Regions from separate parts of the Homo sapiens genome. Here region 2 is linked to region 1. Evidence: promoter capture Hi-C in human tissues and cell types (Jung and others, 2019). All regions are on one chromosome and are shown on one strand. Each heading gives the region's core, a stretch centred on a gene start or on the middle of the fragment in contact. The rest is flanking DNA. Distances are from core to core; before and after follow the strand shown. Region 1 holds the start of KRTAP6-2 (keratin associated protein 6-2). Region 2 has its middle 16 kb from the start of KRTAP19-6.

Region 1 (5,053 bases), core at 920-3,419:
TTTAAGTTTATAGAGTTTTAAGTTTAAAGTTTTAAGCTTATAATAAGGGCCTTAAATGCCACATGAATGGTATGTGGGACAAATCACAGGCACTGTTAGATTCACATTCCACACTAATTAGCATTGAAACCATCTAAAATATTCCTTGTAACCAATACATCCAAGACAACTTTGCTGTTTCTCAGGAATGTTGAATATAATGAAATAATGTACCTTTAATAAGAGATCCATCTCCTATTTTGATGACTCGTTTATTTCAGATGTCAAATTTAAACTACATTACCAGCAACCAAGAGTAACCCACATGGCTTCCACTTGTTGTTGTTGTTGTTGTTGTTGTTGTGAGACAGAGACTAGCTCTGTTGCCTGGCTGGAGTGCAGTGGCACAATCTCACTGCAACCTCCACCTCCTGGTTTCAAGTGATTCTCCTGGATTCTCTGCCTCAGCCTTATGAATAGCTGGTGCGTGCCACCACGCCCAGCTAATTTTTGTATTTTTAGTAGAGATGGGGTTTCGCCATGTTGGCCAGGATGGTCTTGATCTCCTGACCTCAAGATCCGCCCGCCTCGGCCTCCCAAAGCCTGGGGTTATGGACGTGATGGCTTCCATTTTTTAAAAATCCTACTTTCACCCAATAATATCCTTCAGCCTAAATACATATATGCAGACTTGGGAATAAGAGTGTAGCTCCAAAGTGATAAGGAAGGATGATAAGCGTGTAAGAGAAGTCATGGTGGCAGCATTCACTTGTAAAATGTTGAGTGATAAGGTGTTTCATCACTTTTTGTGGAGCAATATCATTCTCTTTGGTTTATACTTCACATGTAGCTATCATTTTATATATGATTCTAAACCGTGGCAAAGACTTTGATTTTTGACTTCGTTGATTCTGGGTATATAGTAAGAAAAGGACTTCTATTAAAAATCTGAATTTTAAAACAATTCCAGAATTACTCAAAGATTTATTGGCATCATGACTCCCTGAGATGGCACAAGACAAGAGTTACATCTCTTCCCAAATGTATAACCTCAATCTACATATGAGGAAACCTTAGACAGATTCAATTGGGGAATATTCCACAAAATATCTGGCTCTCTAAAATTGTAAGGTCATAAAAGCCAAGAAAAGACGAATGAACCATGAGCAATTGGAGGTGACTAAGAAGTATAAAAACCAAATGCAATGTGAATTGGATCCAAGAACAGAAAAAAAGAACATTAAAATAAATATGTGAATAGTGCTACAATGAACCATGGTCCTAGAACTTAAAATAAAATAAGTTAATAATAACAGAAAAATGGTAAAATAAAGTCTGCAGTTTAGTTAAGAATACTGTACACAGTTAATTTCTTTGGTGTGATAAGTGGATTATGGTTATGAAAGATATTAATATTAGGGATGTTGAATGATGGATATATGGAAATTTTCTATACTATTTTGACAACTATCTCTATGCCTGAGATTATTTTAAGATAAGAAGTTAAAAGAGAATATAAAACTATTGTTCCATTTCATTGACTTGGTCACTTATTAATTCTTTTATAAATCAAGAAAATAACTTACATTTTCTTGTTCTTCCGTAGAGGTTGAACATAAAGGAAAATTAGACTCACTGGTATAAGTAGAAAAATACAACAAATTTTTCTCAGATCTGGTTTTCTAGAATTTTTAATTAGTTGAATTATTATCAACATCATGGCTTTAGTATAGAAAAGACACTAAATCCCTGAAAAAAGTATTATTTGGATAAAGAGAGCAGAAATACTAAAAGGGCAAAGTTATTGTTTGCTGAATGTTGTGCAAAAGAGTACAATTAATTGGGGCCTAGAGCAAATAAGAGTGTAACTAACAAAAGTCTTTCTTGATGTAAAGGATGGCTATAGAAAGTCTAGTTTGAGGCAGGATTATATGAGTGTGAGTGTGTGAGGTCTCCTTTCATCAGAGCCCTCAATCAGATAAGGGGAGCCCAAATTGCAAGGCCAAACAAAACAAGCCTCCTTAATACCTCTGCAGCATTATCTTACAATTGAGAAAAAACAAACTAATTATATTAGTCAAAAAATTAGCCAGTGGTATGCTACCTCTGCTGGATCATTCCCATCCTGAGGCATATAAAAGGACTTCTACAGGAAGTATCCATACTGAAGTCACCTACACTCCTTCCTACCCAAGGACAACCTCCACAACCATCACGATGTGCGGCAGCTACTACGGAAACTACTACGGCGACCATGGCTATGGGTGCTGTGGATACGAAGGCCTAGGCTATGGCTATGGAAGCCTGCGCTGTGGCTATAGCTCCTGCTGTGGCTATGGTCATGGCTACGGCTCCCGCTTCTTCTGTGGCTGTGGCTATGGATGCGGCTCTGGCTACTACTATTGAGGACACCGTGGGAGACTCATCCTCTATCCTGTGACATCGGGATTCACCAATTCTGAACCCCGTATGCTCTGAGCTCGGGGCTGGATGAAGATTATCTTATATTAAAAGTTTCTGATGTGATTTATCTGAAGACTGACCCTCCCACCCCCAGTACCCTCTGGATCTAGTATTTTCAACTTCCTTTTCTGCATTTAATGCATGAAAATTAAAATAATGTAAAATTCATCCTATGAACTCCTGTGGTCTCTCATCAAGATGATGCTGTTATAGATCTTGCTTTTTGATTTTCATGCAGGAACTTATTTTCTGTTTTCCTAATACACTTTTTCAATCTGGAATTACCATCCTGATTTTCTTTTCATTAGTATCCAGTATTTATCTTTTTAGCTTTCTTCCCAATTTATGTTAACCTAACAATGTCTCAACGTAACCCATGTTATCACTGCTTCAATAGAATAGAAAACCGAGCATGAACAGAGCAGAAAACCGTGCATCATTTATGGGTTGATTATTTGCGTATGAAAATCATTTACTGTCAAACTTGTTCTATGTAGTTCATATCACAACTCTACATAAATAATTTATAATCTAAATAACCATAATTAAGTAGCATTTATTAGCCGTTTAGCATAGAGCAATCACTGTGCCAAGTTTTTAACGTACATCATCTCAAATGAGCCTCAGAATGAATGCATGATGTGTTAAAATTTTCCCCATTTTCCTGTAATCCCACCACTTTGGGAAGCTGAGACAGGTGGATCATTTGAGGTCAGGAGTTCAAGACCAGCCTGGCCAATATGGTGAAACCCCGTCTCTATTAAAAATACAAAAAAACCAGCCAGGGGCCATGGTGGTGCACACCTGTAATCCCAGCTACTTGGGAGGGTGAGGTGGGAGAATCGCTTAAACCCGGGAGGCAGAGGTTGCAGTGAGCCGAGATTGTGCCACTGCACTCCAGCCTGGGTGACATCTTTTTCAAGAAAAAGAAAAAAAAAATTGGCCGGTCATGGTGGCTCATGCCTGTAATCCCAGCACTTTGGGAGGCCGAGGCGGGCAGATCACAAGGTCAGGAGATCAAGACCATCCTGGCTAACACAGTGAAACCCCATCTCTACTAAAAATATAAAAAAAAATTAGCCGGGCTTGGTGGCGGGCCCCTGTAGTCCTAGCTACAGGAGAATGGCGTGAACCTGGTAGGGGGAGGTTTCAGTGAGCTGAGATCGCGCCACTGCACTCCAGCCTGGGTGACAGAGTGAGACTCTATCTAAAAAAAAAAAAAAAAAAAAAAAAAAAAAAAAGAGAAAAAAACTTATCCCCATTTTAGAGCTGAATAGATAGAAGTAAAGAGAATGGAGTAACTTTCTCATTGGCAGGTGTGGCAAAAGAGATATTTCATACCCACCTGTTTGTTGTCTCTTTGTAGATTCATCTAAAGTATTTATTTTCTTTGACTCTAGATAATTGCAGGGATTGTTTAACCACTAAATGCAAAGTTATCTCCCGGGATAGGCTTAGTTATTACTGTTATTTAATGTTATTGACTTAAATTAAAATTATCTGAAGAACAATTTTGTTTTTTACCTCTTTACCCAACGAAAATCTTCCATTCCACTTTTCTCTGCTTTTTAAATTTATACTGACCACTCTATTTACGAAATTTCAGCTCACACATTAGACGTTTATAATCTTTCATGCACATCTCTTACTTTTTGGCACAATCTTTTTATGCCTTTTCTCCAAATTCTAGGAAAATTTCTCAATCCCTTTTCCCCATCTCATCTCTTATTAACTTTTGTCCCTTCAGCATTTTTTTCTTTAAATTAACTTTATCATGACAAATACCTATTGCCTCTTTTTAGATTTTAATAATTGCTTATATAGTTGCTGTAGCTCTATGCATTTCAGGGCTCTCAAATATTATACATTTTAGAATTTGAAAAAAATGTGTTGAAGAGGTTTTCTTCCTTTTGCAACAGTACTATTTTTGAAAAGTAGGCTCATTGTGAGTGCCTAGACTGATCCTTTGATTTTCATAGCTACTTATTTCATATGGTTTTACCCTTAAAAAGAATGATCTACTACTTAGGATAAAGATTTGTTCCATCAGAACTTTTGCGTAGATATGCTAAATCTTTTGCATACAAACAATTGTAAAGAAAAAGTGTTAATACTTCTAATTTTATTTTGCCTGTTTAGCAATACCCATCACTTTCAAGGGTGATCATCTAGTGTGAGCAAGTGAAGGTAGTCATTTCCAATACCATGTAACAGGCCTTTCTGTACATGTTTGTTGTGACGGATCCTGGTTACACGTTGGTGATGTTCTACTTCAAATTCCTTCAATCTTCTCCCTAGGTGTTTATCTTTCTTATATAAAATTCTAATCTATTGGCATTTTTTCTCATCCAATCTTGTCAATATGTCAAGAAGAAATACTCTCAAGATTATTATTTTTATTTAATGGATTAATATCCATTTTATACTATATGTAGACTTATGGCAAATACTATAATTTATTTTTAAATATTACAATAGTTTTTAGATGTATTATACTAAGAGTCTTTAAACCACTTTATTGAAGTATTATTGACATATAATAAGCTGTATGTACTTAATATATACCATATGGTGAGTTTGGAGATAAATATACATCTGTGAAGGCATCATC
Region 2 (5,053 bases), core at 1,435-3,934, 73 kb after region 1:
ATTATTTTGTTGATTGTGTGCTTTTTTTGTTCCTTCAGTGTCATCAAAACCATGCACAGTCTTGGCCTCTTTAATAACAACTCCTTTTCTGATAGCCTAGCATGAACCCCTAATGAAGCAATCATACTGCAGACTGCATACTCAGGGCCAAGCTAAAACTAGAGGTTCTATTTCTCTGATTTAGAATTTCATTAATCTAGTCAAAAAATTTTCATCATTGCTACATTAGTAACATTGTGCTAACTTCCTTATTCCATGGAAAAAAATATCTGTACATGTTTCCAATAAAATTGCTTTATTGATATAGCAAACATAATTTAAATTTTATTTATTCACCTCAATAGACATTTTTCATTTAAGTTTTGCCAATATTTTTGCAATTAACAATATATTTTCCTTTTGAATTATATTTCTTATTAATGCTTACTTATAAAAGACTTAACGTCTTTCCTTCTTAGAGTGATACTCCCTTATTGTACTTCAAAAACTTTAGAATTAAGCACAGATTTTCCCAATAATGAAAAGGCCATTGTCCCTTTATTTACGTTTCTTCTTTCAATTTGCTCCCATTTAAGGACCCTCAAAGCTATATAAGGAGATAAGCTTTCACAGTGTAATATATTTTTCTTTCATATAATTACATTTGTGAGCTGACAGAGAGGTAAGTTATGAAGGGTTTGTTGCTCTATGCTTAGGGGGCTTTGCAGCAAATGTCGAAAACAGAGATGTAAATTATTATTGTCTTTGCACATGTATGAAAATGGATATTTTAAAAGATTGAGAATCTCACTCAAGTGGGTAGAAACAGGACTTTGAAATAACAACAGGCATTGCTGCATATACTGGGCTCTCAACTAGTGTGCTCTAACACCTTCAAACTCATGCCAATTAATAAGTAGGAAACTGTAATTTCTGGATTAGGAGGAGAGCGGTGGTTCTTGATAAAAGGAGAGAATGAGAGACAAGGACTAACAAAATTAGATATGATGCAAGAGGTCAGATTGCATCAAGTAATCTAGTTAGGCTATGTTAAGCACAGTCATAAGCTTTGAAGAATTGGCAGTCATTACCTTTTATTGTAAGAGCTGACACTAAGAAGTTCAGAGAAAGCAAATAAGTAAATATAATTATACATGAGTAGCATTAAAACTTCTCAAATTGGCCGGGCGCGATGGCTCACGCCTGTAATCACTTTGGGAGGCCGAGGCCAGCGGATCATGAGGTCAGGAGATCGAGACCATCCCGGCTAATACGGTGAAACCCTGTCTCTACTAAAAATACAAAAAATTAGCTGGGCGTGGTGGCGGGTACCTGTAGTCCCAGCTACTCGGGAGGCTGAGGCAGGAGAATGGTGTGAACCCGGGAGGCGGAGATTGCAGTGAGCCGAGATTGCGCTGCTGCACTCCAGCCTGCGTGACAGAGCGAGACTCTATCTCAAAAAAAAAAAAAAAAAAAACAAAAAACTTCTCAAATCACAAAACAAGAATATACTTGGGCTGTTTTGCACATTAGTGAAAGAAACAAAAATGAGAAATATCTATGTAGTGCCCCCCCACCCCCGAGAGAATATAAAAGTCTAGGCGTGGGTGGTGATATTTATTCTTAGGAAATTCAACTTCAACATCAAACCAATCTTCAACCCCCAACATAATGAGCTACTAGTACAGCAAGGACTACAGTGGACATGGCTATGGCCTTGGTGGTTTTGGTAGTCTGGACTATGGCTATGGATCTAGCTATGGGCTTGATGGTGGTTATGGCTGTGACCATTCTTATCCCTCTTTCTATGAAGGATATTGGTAATCTTCACTCCTTTTGAAAATATAGTCTATTGCAAATAAATTCAGAGCTTTTATATTATTTTCATCTTCGTTCTTTTGTTTTCTTCACTGTTATCAGTGACATATTTCAGAGCCAGTCATGAGCCCCTGAAGACATCCTAATGGAGACCAATTCTCCAAATCTGCAGGGATTTGTTTCCCTTAGCTGGAATCTTAGCACCAGTCTAGTCGAGGTATCCACATTCCCACTGTGTTATTAGCATGAAGCTTTTCTTCTTTATCCCTTTGATGATATTTCCGCACATATTCCCTAATAAAATTTGCTTATGGGAATCTAAAACCATGCTCCTCTTTCCATAGAAGTTATTGGTCCTCTGGATTCTACTGAAAAGAAAAAAAATTGATCATCACATTAGAACTCAAAATTTTAGGATTCTTTCCCTGATAGAAGGTTTTATGCCCTTCAGTATCACCAGTGATATTTTTCTGAGGGCTTTTCTTAATGAAGATCTCACCATGCAAAAGGCACATTTGTTTCAGTGTGGACCTACTTTTCTGACTTAGAATTTCATCACTCAAGCTAGGTATTGTCTTCTCTGCTACAATAATAAAATGCCACTGACTTCATTCTTATGTGATATTTCCGGAGACACTTTCTAGTAAATTTTCTTCATAAGCCTATAAAGCCTGACATCATTTTTTAATTCATTCCAATGCATTTGAGTTTTACATTTAAAAAAATACTCTCATTTAAAAAATTTTCCCTATGAAAATATGTACTTTATACCTATTATTCCTTATCTTTGAAGGTGATCAAAGTTTTAAGAGGACACATTGTTTAGTTAATGTGGTTTGTTGCTAAGAGCAGACTTCCATTATTATGATATTCATGGAAACTAAATAATTTAGACATTTCAAATTCCAGTAAGTTTGGCATTTCCCTTCATGTACATTTTTTTTTCATTGGTTTGCTGGGGCCACTTCATACCAGCTCACAAAAGGCAATTTTGAGCATCTCTTTCCAGCTCTGTGTTTAGAGGCGTCACATTGCTAAGTTGAAAGAGAACGTGATGGGAGTATTTATACTACAGAGATCAGCAAATGCTACAAATTAGACTTTTTTCAGAGAGCCTTTTTTTTTTTGTCACGACTGATGACATTTATTCTGAATTAGGTACAACATTGAGTTCCTAAAAATCTTCATTATATAAGAAGAGGGTGATGTTTTGATGTTTTCCATGTGGATTTTGCATTTCTCCCATAGTCATTTGTTTGCTTGGTTGTGCAAGTGAAAGGTAACTTCTGCATCCTTTCCTGGTGAGACAGAATATTATATATGCAATAGGTTACATGAAACAGACCTGTTACTTACAGATAGGGAGCAAGGGACAATGGAAGCCTAGGGTTCATTGTAAGTTCATCCCCCAAGTCTCAGAAAAGCTGCCTGGAGAAGATAGAGTCTTCACTGTATGCACCCCACTTGTACTACAGCTGAGGGATCCCCCCAAAGCAGCCCACTCTGAGTTTTATACCCCAGGGTCACATTAATCATGGGAATAAAGCATGGAAGGAACTCTTGTGTCTAGGGGAATCAGTAACAAATCCTAGGCTGTTCTGGATGGCTAGGGAATAAATGTGGAAAGGGAATAAATGCTTTCTCAGACAAACAACAACAACAGCAACAATAAACAAAGAAATGAAGTATCAGTAGCCTTCCCTGCAAGAAATGTTAAGAAAAAGATTTTCAGTCATAGGAAGATGGTTAAAAACCTTGGATCTATGTAAACAAACGAGGAGCAACAGAAGAAATGAACGGAGAAGAAATGAAAGAAGGTAAATTGTTTAATTTTTCTATCCTTAATTGCTTTAACATAACTGTTCAGTTAAGGCAAAAATAGTCACAAGGTATTAGTTAAAAGAGAATATAGATAAGTGAAACGTTATAAAGAGAGGTGAAAGAAATTTGGGATATTCTATTAGTAGGTACATGTAGTAAATGTGAATTGCTATGCTATTATTTGAAGGTGAACTTATATTAGTTAAGAACATATATTGTAAACTCCAGGGGAAACACTAAAAATAAAAATAGAAATAAGTATAATTGATATACCTTTCAAGAGGGCAGATAAAATTCAATCATATAAATTATACATTTAATACCAGAAAAGGAAGAAAACATAGGAAAATAGAAATAAAGACCTAACGCTATGAGTGGAAAATAGTCACAAACATAACAGATATCAATCTAACTATATTAATAATCACCTTAAATGTAAATGATATAAATAAAGCAATTATAAAACTAAGCTTGCCAGCATGGGTTAAAAAAAAAAAAAAACTTTATACACTCAGGACCCAACTACATGGTGACTATAAAAGAAAAACACACTCTGACTACCAAGATTCAGGTTGCGGTAAAAGAATTAAAAAAAATTCCATGAAAACATTAATCAAAAAAAAAAAGCTGAGGTTCCTATATTAATTTCAAGTAAAGAAACTTCAGGACAAGGAAAGTTATCAAGAGAAAAAAAAGCATTAAATAAAGGTTAAAGGATCAATTCTTTAAAAAAGTATAACAATTTTAAACTGTATATACTTAACGTAAGAGTGTAAAAACATATAAGGCAAAAATTGATTAAAGTGAAAGGAGAAATCGGCAAATTCAATATTGTAATTGGAGACTTCAGTACCCTTCTGTCAATAATTGATAGCTTGAGATAGCAGGAAGTCAGTAAAGATACAGATGGTGATATTGTTTGGCTGTGTCCCCACCCAAATCTCATCTTGACCTGTAGTTCCCATAATCCTCATGTGTTGTAGGAGGGACCCAGTGGAAGGTAATTGAATCCTGGGGGTGGCTACCTGCATGATATTCACATGATAGTGAGTGAGTTCTCATCACATCTGACGGTTTTATAAGGGTCTTTTCCCTGCCTTTACTCTGCACTTCTCCTTACTGCCACCATGTGAAGAAGGACATGTTTGCTTCCCCTTCTGCCATGGTTGTATGTTTCCTAGGGCCTCCCCAGCCCTGGGGAACAGTGAGTCTATTGAACTTCTTTCCTTTATAAATTACCCGGTCTCAGGTATGTCCTTATTAGTGGCATGAGAACAGACTAATACAGATGGTGTGAAGAGTACACATCATCAATTTGCTATAATTCACATTTTTAAAGCATTCCATCCAACAAAAGCAGAAAACATTTTTTCTCAAGCTTACTCAGAACATTCATCAAGATAGGTAACATTGTGGGCCATAAAATATATCTTAA

The links. Contacts are between HindIII fragments. The study calls those that stand out against the background at their distance.
Region 2: a fragment that was not itself captured here is called in contact with the fragment with the promoter of KRTAP6-2 in region 1 in 2 of the 25 tissues and cell types used here (dorsolateral prefrontal cortex and pancreas).

The regions. Positions count from the first base shown.
Region 1 is chr21:30,596,018-30,601,070 of GRCh38, reverse strand. It overlaps KRTAP6-2 (keratin associated protein 6-2), which reads left to right and starts at 2,169. Exons shown (of 1, transcript NM_181604.2): 1 at 2,169-2,481. The coding sequence starts at 2,197. The coding sequence ends at 2,385. The HindIII fragment of the contact is 6,207 bases long and covers 1-5,053 here.
Region 2 is chr21:30,523,299-30,528,351 of GRCh38, reverse strand. No RefSeq gene overlaps it. Among named protein-coding and RNA genes, the nearest start is that of KRTAP19-6, 16 kb to the left of the region's middle. The HindIII fragment of the contact is 3,717 bases long and covers 826-4,542 here.